Linked DNA regions of Homo sapiens: region 1 is linked to region 2. Evidence: promoter capture Hi-C in 16 types of primary human blood cells and fetal thymus (Javierre and others, 2016). All regions are on one chromosome and are shown on one strand. The core of a region is centred on a gene start or on the middle of the fragment in contact, and the rest is flanking DNA. Distances in the headings are between cores, read along the strand shown. Region 1 overlaps TSNAX-DISC1 (TSNAX-DISC1 readthrough (NMD candidate)). Region 2 holds the start of FAM89A (family with sequence similarity 89 member A).

Region 1 (5,278 bases), core at 1,303-3,802, 570 kb before region 2:
AAACTGAGATGCAGAGAGTTGCCCACAGCATGGCTAGTAACAGGCAGTGCATCCAACAGGACTGGATTGCCCAGCAAACTTTCTGCACCCAAATAAAATACAGGTTCTGCCTGCAGGGGTCTTGGCTCTTTGGGGAGTACACAGAGACACATTTTTTAAAGTTACTTAGAACTTCGGAGGAGGCAGAAAACCACTATGGGCTCAGGTGGTCTTTGTGAAAGAGGAGAGAAGACAGGGAGAGTCTCTCAGGCAAGAGGAAAATTGAGAGTCAAGCCACATGGCTTGTCTAAGAGAACCCCCAACCTGCAGCTGACAGCTCATCTTGGCGAGAATCCAGAGAAGGCGACTTCAGAGATGAAGGTGAAGGCCAGGTTGTGAAAGGCCTTTAATGCCAGGCTAACTAAGGGGTTGAGCTTTTTTCTCATCACCAAGAAGGGGCCATTAAAGATTCTGAAGCAGCGGGGAATCTGTACCAACTAGGCTTTCGGGGAAAGATGACTCTGAGGGAAAAGAGAGGCAGCAGGATGAGGAGCCCAGGTACGGGTTGGGAGGACTGGAAGTGGGAAGCAGGAGAGAGGTGGTGGGAAAGTGGAAGGGAGTTGGAGTGGAAGGAATTGAGAGGAAAGGACCACAGTGCAAGGCAGTATGAAGAAATAATGGCACCCCTAAAGTTAAGTTTGAGATTTGGGATGGATGTGGTTGGAAGTCCCTAGCAAGTCATAAGAGATGATGGGCTGATGGTCAGGAGAAAGGTCAAGAGACATTTATCTGTGTAGATATGATCATTGAAGTATTAGAAGGGATAAGAAGGTTGAATGGGAATGGAACACTGAAACTTGGGTCCTACTAACTTTAAGAAGTTGGATCAGAAAGGCAAGCAAGAAAAAGATGTAAGAGATGGGAAGAGAAGCAGAACAGAGGGAAGGCAGCACTCCCAAGAAGTCTTCCCAATCAGGCCCCTGGCTCCAGTTGTGCCCGTTCCCTTCTTTACACCAACTTCCTCCCTGTGTCTAAGCTGGGTTCATGTCCCAGGTCCTGCCACACTCCAGAAGTGTAGTATCAAGTTAGAGACTTAGAGACATCTGCGGAAGTTTACTAGTCTTGTGACAATCCAGAGCAAAGTCATGAAAACCAGACAAAAATAGTTTCAAAAAGGAGATGTGGGACTGGGCACTGTGGATTTGAGAGGTTGAGGCAGGAGGATTGCTTGAGGCCAAGAGTTCAAGAACAATCTGGACAATGTAGGAGACCCCATCTCTGCAAAAAATAAAAATAAAAACTAGCCTGGCTCAGTGGCATGTACCTGTGGTCTCAGCTACTCAGGAGGCTGAGATGGGAGAATTGCTCAAACCCAGAAGGTTAAGGCTTCAGTCAGCTGTGATCACGCCACTGCACTCCAGCCTGGCCAACAGAGCCAGACCCTGTCTCAAAAAAAAAGTGGGTGAGGGGGGAGATATTGGGCAATAAAAACTGCAAAGACAGAACAAGTAGGAAGGCAAAAGAGAAGAATTGCTTCAAGGGAGCTGTTTCAGGTAGAATTCCAGGAGCAGGCTGAAAAGGTGAAGGTGCTAAGGAGGATATGGATGGCACAGAAGCAAATGTTCAGCATACTCCCTACTCTTTCAAGAAGTTTTGCAGAGAAGGGAGGGAAAGTGTGGGGAGGAATTGTCAATGGAAAGCAAGAGAAAAAGAAGATTCTTTTTTTTTCTGAGACAGAGTTTTGCTCTTATCGCCCAGGCTGGAGTACAGTGGCGTGATCTCTGCTCACTGCAACCTCCGCCTCCTGGGTTCAAGAGATTCTCCTGCCTCAGCCTCCTGAGTAGCTGGGATTACAGGCGCCCACCACCATGTCCAGCTAATTTTTTTTTTTTTTGGTAGAGACGGGGTTTCACCATGTTGGCCAGGTTGGTCTCAAGCTCCTGACCTCAGGTGATTCCCCTGCCTCGGCCTCCCAAAGTGCTGGGATTACAGGCGTGAGCCACTGCACCCAGCCAAGAGAAGGTTCTTTCAGATACTGTAACATGGTTATAATTAGGCAGAGAGTCTCAGCCCTTCAGCTGATAAACAACTTCAGCAAAGTTTCAGGATACAAAATCAATGTACAAAAATCATTGGCATTCCTATAAACCAACAACAGTCAAGCTGAGAGCCAAATCAGAAAGGCAATCCCATTCACAATTGCCACAAAAAAAGAATAAAATACCTAGGTATACAGCTAACCAGGGAGGTGAGAGATCTCCAACACTGCTCAAAGAAATCAGAGAAGACACAAACAAATGGAAAAACATCCCATGCTCATGGATAGGAAAAATCAATATTATTAAAATGGCCATACAATCCAAAGCAACGTACAGATTCAATGCTATTCTTATCAAACTACCAATGACATTGTTCACAGAACTAGAAAAAAGAAACTACTTTAAAATTAATATGGGGTCAGGCGCAGTGCCCAATGCCTGTAATCCCAGCACTTTAGGAGGCTGAGGTGGGTGGATCACCTGAGGTCAGGAGTTCGAGACCAGCCTGGACAATATGGTGAAACCCCGTCTCTACTAAAATTACAAAAATTAGCCAGGTATGGTGGCATGCACCTGTAATCCCAGCTACTTGAGAGGCTGAGGCAGGAGAATCGCTTGAAACCAGGAGGCAGAAGTTGCAGTGAGCCAAGATTGTGACACTGCATTCCAGCCTGGGCAACAGAGTGAGACTCCAAAACAATAATAATATGGAACCAAAAAAGAGCCTGAATAGCCAAGGCAATCCTAAGCAAAAAGAACAAAGCCAGAGAAATTATGGTTCCTGACTTTGAACTATACTACAGGGTTACAGTAACCAAAACAGCATGGTACTGGTACAAAAACAGGCACATAGATCAATAGAACAAAATAGAGAGCCCAGAAATAATGCTGCATGCCTACAACCACCTGATCTTCAACAAACTAGACAAAGACAAGCAATGGGGAAAAGACTTCCTATTCAATAAATGGTGCTGGGATAACTGGCTAGCCACATGTAGAAGATTGAAGCTGGACCCCTTCCTTACACCATATACAAAATCAATTCACAATGGATTAAAGACTTAAATGTAAAACCCAAAACTATAAAAATCCCACAAGACAACCTAGGCAATACCCTTCGGGACATAAGAATGGGCAGAGAGGCTGGGCACGATGGCTCACGCCTGTAATCCCAACACTGTGGGAAGCTGAGGCAGGTGGATTGCCTGAGCTCAGGAGTTTGAGACCAGCCTGGGCAACATGGTGAAACCCCGTCTCTACTAAAATACAAAAAATTAGCTGGGTGTGGCAGTGTGCGCCTGTAGTCTGAGCTTCTCTGGAGGCTGAGGCAGGAGAATTGCTTGAACCCAGGAGGCGGAGGTTGCAGTGAGCCAAGATTGTGCCACTGCACTCCAGCCTGGGCGATAGAGCGAGACTTTGTCTGAAAAAAAAAAAAAAAAAAAAAAAAAAAAAAGAATGAGCAAAGATTTCATGACAAAGACACCAAAAGCAATCGCAACAAAGGCAAAAATTGACAAGTGGTATCTAATTAAACTTAAGAGCTTCTGCACAGCAAGAGAATCTACCAACAGAGTAAACAGACAACATACACAATGGGAAAAAATACTGGCAAACTATGCATCTGACAACGGTCTAATATCCAGCATCTATAAGGAACTTAAATTTGCAAGAGAAAAACAAACAACCCCGTTAAAAAGTGGGCAAAGGACATGAACAGACACTTTTCAAAAGAAAACATACATGCGGCCAACAAGCATATGAAAGAAAGCTCAATACCACTAATCATTAGAGAAATGCAAATTCAAACCACAGTGAGATACCACCTCACACCAGTTAGAATGGTTATTATTAAAAAGTCAGAAAATAACAGATGCTGCTAGGCTGCAGAGAAAAGGGAACATTTATACACTGTTGGTGGGAGTGTCAATTAGTTCAACCATTATGGAAAGAAGTATGGCGATTCCTCAAAGAGCTAAAAGCAGAACTACCATTTGACCCAGCAATCCCATTACTGGGTGTATACCCAGAGGAATATAAATCATTCTACCATAAAGACACATGCACGCGAATGTTCACTGCAACACTATTCACAATAGCAAATACATGGAATCAACCTGAATGACCATCAATGACAGATTGAATAAAGCAAATGTGGTACATACACACCGTGGAATACTAAGCAGCCGTAAAAACGAACAAGATCATGTCTTTTGCAGGAACATGGATGGAGCTAGAGGTCATTGTCCTTAGTAAAGTCACACAGGAACAGAAAACCAAATACCACATGTTGTCACTTATAAGCAGGAGCTAAATGACAAGAACTTATGAACACAAAGAAGGAAACAACAGACACTGGTGTCTACTTGAGGGTGGAGGGTGGGTGGGGGGAGAGGAGCAGAAAAGATAACTATTGGGTACTGGGCTTAATACCTGGGTGATCAAATAATCTGTACAACAAAACCCTGTGACATGAGTTTACCTATGTAACGAACTTTTACATGTAACCCTGAACCTAAAATAAAAGTTTAAAAAAAATGGAAAAGAGGGTAGTCATTACCGGGGTAGGCAGAGGGAGGAAAAAGCCCTTAAGAGAAAGATCAGCAAGCTAAGGAAGAGGAGGAGGTGTGCAGGCTGGGAGTTGAGCCCCACTGCCCTCCTCCTTTATAGGGCAGCAGCAGGATGCAGGAGAGATATCAGCCTCCCAAGCATCACTTCTCAGGAATGCAGTGGAGCTAGCCCTGCTAACTGCAATACTATGACAGGGATTCTGAAAGGGCATTCCTCTTATAATTAAATACCTAGGTACTGGGAGGCAAATAAAAATCATAATAAAAGCCAACAGTAATGAGTTTACCGGCCAGACACGGTGGTTTATATTTTAATCCCCGCATTTCAGGAAACCAAGATGAGGCGGGAGGATCGCTTGAGCCCAGGAGTTTGAGACAAGCCTGGGCAACATAACGAGACTCTGCCAAAAAATTAAAATCAACGAAACTAGCCAGGTATGGTGCCAGCACCTGTAGTCCCAGCTACTCGGGAGGCTGAGATGGGAGGATCACTTGAGCCCAGGAGTTCGAGGCTGCAGTGAGCTGTGATAGCACCACTGCACTCCTGCCTAGGAGACAGAGTGAGACCCTGTCTCGAAAAAATTTTTAAACATTTTTTAAAATTAAGAGCTTATCTATTGTCTGTTACCATTATGCCAAGGGCTTTACTTTGACCATTTTTTTCAGTTCTCAAAAGAATGCTACAGATTTAGT
Region 2 (4,850 bases), core at 985-3,484:
AATCTCCTATCACCTACCTTGAGTGATTTCTGCTAGGTACTACAGGTGAGACTGCATTGTAACCAGTGAAATTAAAGAAATTCATGCAGGCTGGGCGCGATGGCTCACACCTGTAATCCCAGCACTTTGGGAGGCCGAGGTGGGTGGATCACCTGAGGTCAGGAGTTCGAGACCAGCCTGGCCAACATCGTGAAACCCCATTTCTACTAAAAATACAAAAATTAGTCGGGCGTCGTGGCACATGCCTGTAATTCCAGCTACTTGGGAGGCAGAGACAGGAGAATTGCTTGACCCAGGAGGCAGAGGTTGCAGTGAGCTGAGATCACGCCACTGCACTCTAGCTTGAGTGATAGACTGTCTCATAAAAAAAAAAAAATTCATGCTAAGGTGTGAACCGAATGTCAAAATGCTTCCCACCCCTTCCTCTCCCTTACTCCCACACAGGCAGACTGGTCACTCTCCTGAAGACACCCACCGTTTACATAAGTGAATGAATAAATACCTGACATCCAGAAATGTGACTAGGTAATTAGTAGAAGGTGAGGCACAGTGAAGAGGCGGAAAATTCTGGGCAGTGGGTGGGGTGGGAAGCCTGGGTGCTGTCAATCACACCGCCTGCACTAAAGCTTCTTCATATCAGTCTCACCCACTTGCAACCGTCCAGGGAGAATATTGTGCCAATTTCAAAGACACTGCTTCTGGGGTGGGCTCTAGGAGGTGGTAAAGGGTATAAAACAACCCAAAGTGCAGGGCTCTTTTATGTTGGGTGTCTGAAGTGCTCAGAACACTTTATAATTTTGATCCCCTTGAATGTAGCTAGAAAATTAAATCCCTTTATAATTAAAGCCAATAATGAATGGGCATTAAAGTTATCCAATCTATACACTGCATTAGTTTTTAATCTGCGGTTGGGCTGTAGCGTTTACTTCTTGATCTTTTCTATCTCTAATCTGGTTATAACTGCCTGTCATTTTTACTTTTCCTGGGAGGGGCAGAGTCTCTCTCTCTCTTCTCTTTTCCTCTGAGGTGTGCGTCGTGTTTATTTTTGCCTGAGCTGATGGATAATTTCCGAGATTTAATCCCTTTCTCTGGTTTCCTGACATTTCCACTTAGAGTTACTCTTGTGTTTATGGCCAGAATGAAAGGCATGTTTACTAGTGTTTTGAAGTTTCAAAAGTGGGTCTGGCGTTCTTGCTGACTGCTGCGGGTACTGCTGGACAAGGCCGTGCTGAGAAGGCCAGCGCGCCCGGCGGCAAGGAGCGACCTGCCCGGGTCTGGGGCCCCCAGCCGCCCCCCGCGGCGAGTGGGAGGCAGCAGGAGGCGGGCTGGATTCCGCCCTCGGGGAGGGCCGGGGGTCCTGGGACCAGAGCCAGGCCTCCTGCCCTCGACGTCCTGCCGGTTGTGAGCCAGAGCCTCGGTACCCCCACCCCCTGCAACGGCCTGCTTCGTGGGATCTGAAGCTGGGCCGCCCCCTGGGCAGGGCAGGGATCGGTGAGGCAAGGAGCTGAGGAGCGCTGGCAGGTAAGGGGGAAGTCTGGAGCCGGGTTGGAGGTGAGCGGGCGTTGAGGGGTGGGACAGAGGGAGTGGAGACGGGGCTGGGGGCGAGCCAGTGAACTGGGGGTGGCACAGAGGAGGTGGGAGCAGAGATGGGGGTGATCCGGAAGCCTGGGGTGGGGGGTGAGTGGGTTCGGAGCTGAGGGTGAGCCAGTGAGCTGAGGGTGGCACAGAGGGCGTGGGGGCGGAACTGGGGGTGAGCCGGGAAGCTGGGGGTTGGCACAGAGGAGGTGGGGACAGAGATGCGGGTGAGCCGGGAAGCTGGGGTTCGGGGTGGCGCGGGTGAGAGGGTTCGGAGCTAGGGGTGAGCCGGGAAGCTGGGAGGTGGTTCAGAGGAGGTGGGGACAGAGATGGGGGTGAACCGGGAAGCTGCGGGTCGCGGGGGGCTTAGTAGGTTCGGAGCTAGGGAGTGGCACAGAAGGGTTCGTGACGGGGCTGGAGGTGAGTCGGGGGGTTAGAGGGTAGTCACGCGGAGTTGGAGATGAATTAGGGCGCTGGAGGGGCGCGAGGGAGGAGGAGACCCGGGTGGAGGCGAGCCCGGCTGCTGGACGCGGACGCCACCCGGACCCGGGGCCCGCGCAGGGGCCTCGAGGAGAGGGGGCGGGGCCGGGGGGGCGTGGCGCGGGAGGGGAAGTGGGCGGGGCACCGCCGGGAAGGGGGCGGGCCGGGGGAAAGCCTTGGTTCGCTGCAGCGGGGCAGGCGCGTGGCCGGGCCGCGGCGCGATGAGTGGGGCCCGGGCGGCGCCCGGGGCCGCGGGCAACGGCGCGGTCCGGGGGCTGCGGGTGGACGGGCTGCCCCCGCTGCCAAAGAGCTTGAGCGGGCTGCTGCACTCGGCGTCGGGCGGCGGCGCGTCTGGGGGCTGGCGGCACCTGGAGCGGCTGTACGCGCAGAAGTCGCGCATCCAGGACGAGCTGAGCCGCGGGGGCCCGGGCGGCGGCGGGGCCCGGGCGGCAGCGCTGCCCGCCAAGCCTCCCAACCTGGACGCCGCTCTGGCGCTGCTCCGCAAAGAGATGGTGAGTGGGGCTCCGCGAGCTGGGGCTCTTCCCGGCCGGGCTCGCCGTCCCGGGAAAGTTCGCGGGGACCGCGCTCTGTCCGGAAGTCCCCGCGCCCACCCGCCCTTTCGGGCTCCTCCGCCCCAGGCGCCGGCGCCGTCCTCCCAACGACCCCCATTTTTCTCGCGTGCTCCGTGCCCACGATTGGAACCCCCGCGGGAGAGCCCCGCGCGCAGAGGGCGGCTTTCTTATGCCCGGCGCCCTCAGTCCGGCCCCGCTGGCTCGGAAACCTGGGCGCCCGGAAGCGCTGTGCGGGGTTCGTGCCTGGCCTGGGGGCGGGGGCGGCCTTGTCACCTCTCCCCGAGTGAAACAGACCTTCCCGGTGGGGGAAAGGCTTTCACAGCGGCCCAACGGATTAACGCGATTGCGTTTTCCTACCACGAAGAGGACAACTTTTGTCCGCCGCCAGTGTAGACAGCAGATTGGAACAGCCCGGCCCCCTTTCCGGCGCCCCAGGCCGCGCGTCCGTGATCCGATTACCGCGGGATGGCCCCGGCGCACAGATGGCTGCGAAAGCAGACGCGCACCCCGGGCGAGGGAGGCGGCCGGGTCCCTCAGCCCCGCGAAGCTGATTGCCCAAACCCTCTTGAGAAAGGTGGGAGGTGGCTGTCCTCCCGGTCTGGGTGCTGTCCATGTGAGTTCTTCGCCTTGTGTCTAAGCTCCATACCATGGGCTCAGTGTTTCTCTGTGCTTGGGAAGTACATTAGCTGTTTGTGGACCAGAACACACATGATTTAGGGTGACGCTAAAAGTAGGACAAGGGCAGGGATTTAGGCAACAGCGAGTCTTTCCCCAGCTTTCTCGGCCAGGCGTAGGCCAGGCAAGAAGAAATCAAAAACTTTTCCTCTTTTCTACCATCTTACTGGCCCCCATCACCTCCTCCCAATCCCCTCGTTTTAAAAGCCTCCCTTTCCATTCACCTCGTCCAGGTTGTCTCCTTTCCCTATAGGTAAATTGTTAAGAAATCTAACATTAGGAAAGCTGCCTTTTCCCAAAACTAAATTTGCCAAAAAATAAATTGTTATAGGAATCTTTTAAATATGTATCTAGTGCATTTAAGATATTGTTTAGAAAAATTCAGGGTATGCATACTTTTTTTTCAGGAGCATTATCTGTTCTGAAAACTAAGACTTAATTGAATTCAGAAAGCAGCCTTAACACTTTTAATCAAAGAGATATTGTCTTCCTACTCTGTAGCTGGCATTGAAGTGATTTCCAATTCTCACTGAAAAGATTTTCTAAGCTTCTTACAGAACCACTTAAATTCCAAGCCAACCGTTTTTAATTTATTAAAAAACATTCATTGACATAAGCATCACACAGCTGGTGAACTGCATTTTAATTAGATAAATCTACACGTAGTGTGTTTACAGTCTGAACTTGGACATAGCAGAACCACGGGGGTGAAGTAGGAAGATCATCTTTGATTATTTAAATTCCATACTTGAGCAAGAGATAGAAAAACCTCGGGGCCGCTCCTGTTGTGAAGCTGTGGTTTATAAACATGCTCTGGAGTCTTGCTATGGTGGCTTGGGAGTCAACGTGCCATTCCCAGAAGTATTTTTCCAGGTCCCTCCTGGTGTGACTGAAGCACAACCACATCCGTATAATTACGCCTTGGACCAGAGCTCTCTGTAAGCCTATTTGAAGCACAAGAAAAATAAACAGCCATCTTTGGTCTGCCTGGTATTTAGCTGAGATAAAGATAAGATATGGCTGCAGGTTTTGACAAGTTCCTTTCAAGAAATGTCACAAGGCCTTTAAAGTTGCCCAGAGAATCTTTCGGCTTTTTAATTGATTTACTGACTTGGGGCCATGGGGTCTGAGTGGACAACTCAAGCTGAGACTCCCTCTGGGGAGGCCTTGCAAAACAAGAACTGGGAGTTCATTCCTGAGATATCTGCAAAATAGTTTGTGTTGATCTGTTTAAATTGAAGGCCTGACGTCAAATCTGTGGCAGGGGACATAACTAGATGTCATGGTAGAATGTGATAAATGCCTTAAAGAAATTTTTTTTTTTAAAGCAAGCATAGAAAGAGGGGCAACTTCTAATAGGGACAGGGAGCAGGGTGGTGTGGAAGACCTCAGAAGGCGACAGAATTTCGACAAGGGAAAGAGGCACCAGGAAGGTAGCTGCGGAGCTGGAACTGGGAGTGCGCCAGTTTGAAATGTGAGCAAGAAGGGCCTGGGCAGGTGGACCGAGTGGACTCTGAGAAGCCTGAGTAGCAAGGATGGGCATTCAGC

Evidence for each region. The method cuts DNA at HindIII sites, captures the fragments that hold promoters and counts their contacts. A CHiCAGO score of 5 or more calls a contact.
Region 1: a fragment that was not itself captured here is called in contact with the fragment with the promoter of FAM89A in region 2 in 1 of 17 cell types (naive CD8 T cells); the score reaches 6.5 in naive CD8 T cells.

What each region holds. Positions count from the first base shown.
Region 1 is chr1:231,606,363-231,611,640 of GRCh38, reverse strand. The region is part of intron 4 of TSNAX-DISC1 (TSNAX-DISC1 readthrough (NMD candidate)); the gene reads right to left. The region is part of intron 1 of LINC00582 (long intergenic non-protein coding RNA 582); the gene reads left to right. Among named protein-coding and RNA genes, the nearest start is that of LINC00582, 3.1 kb to the left of the region's middle. The HindIII fragment of the contact is 5,541 bases long and covers 1-5,278 here.
Region 2 is chr1:231,037,638-231,042,487 of GRCh38, reverse strand. FAM89A (family with sequence similarity 89 member A) reads left to right here and starts at 2,234. Exons shown (of 2, transcript NM_198552.3): 1 at 2,234-2,567. The coding sequence starts at 2,277. RefSeq lists silencers at 2,073-2,182, 2,443-2,492, 3,133-3,212 and an enhancer at 2,875-3,556. The HindIII fragment of the contact is 3,223 bases long and covers 629-3,851 here.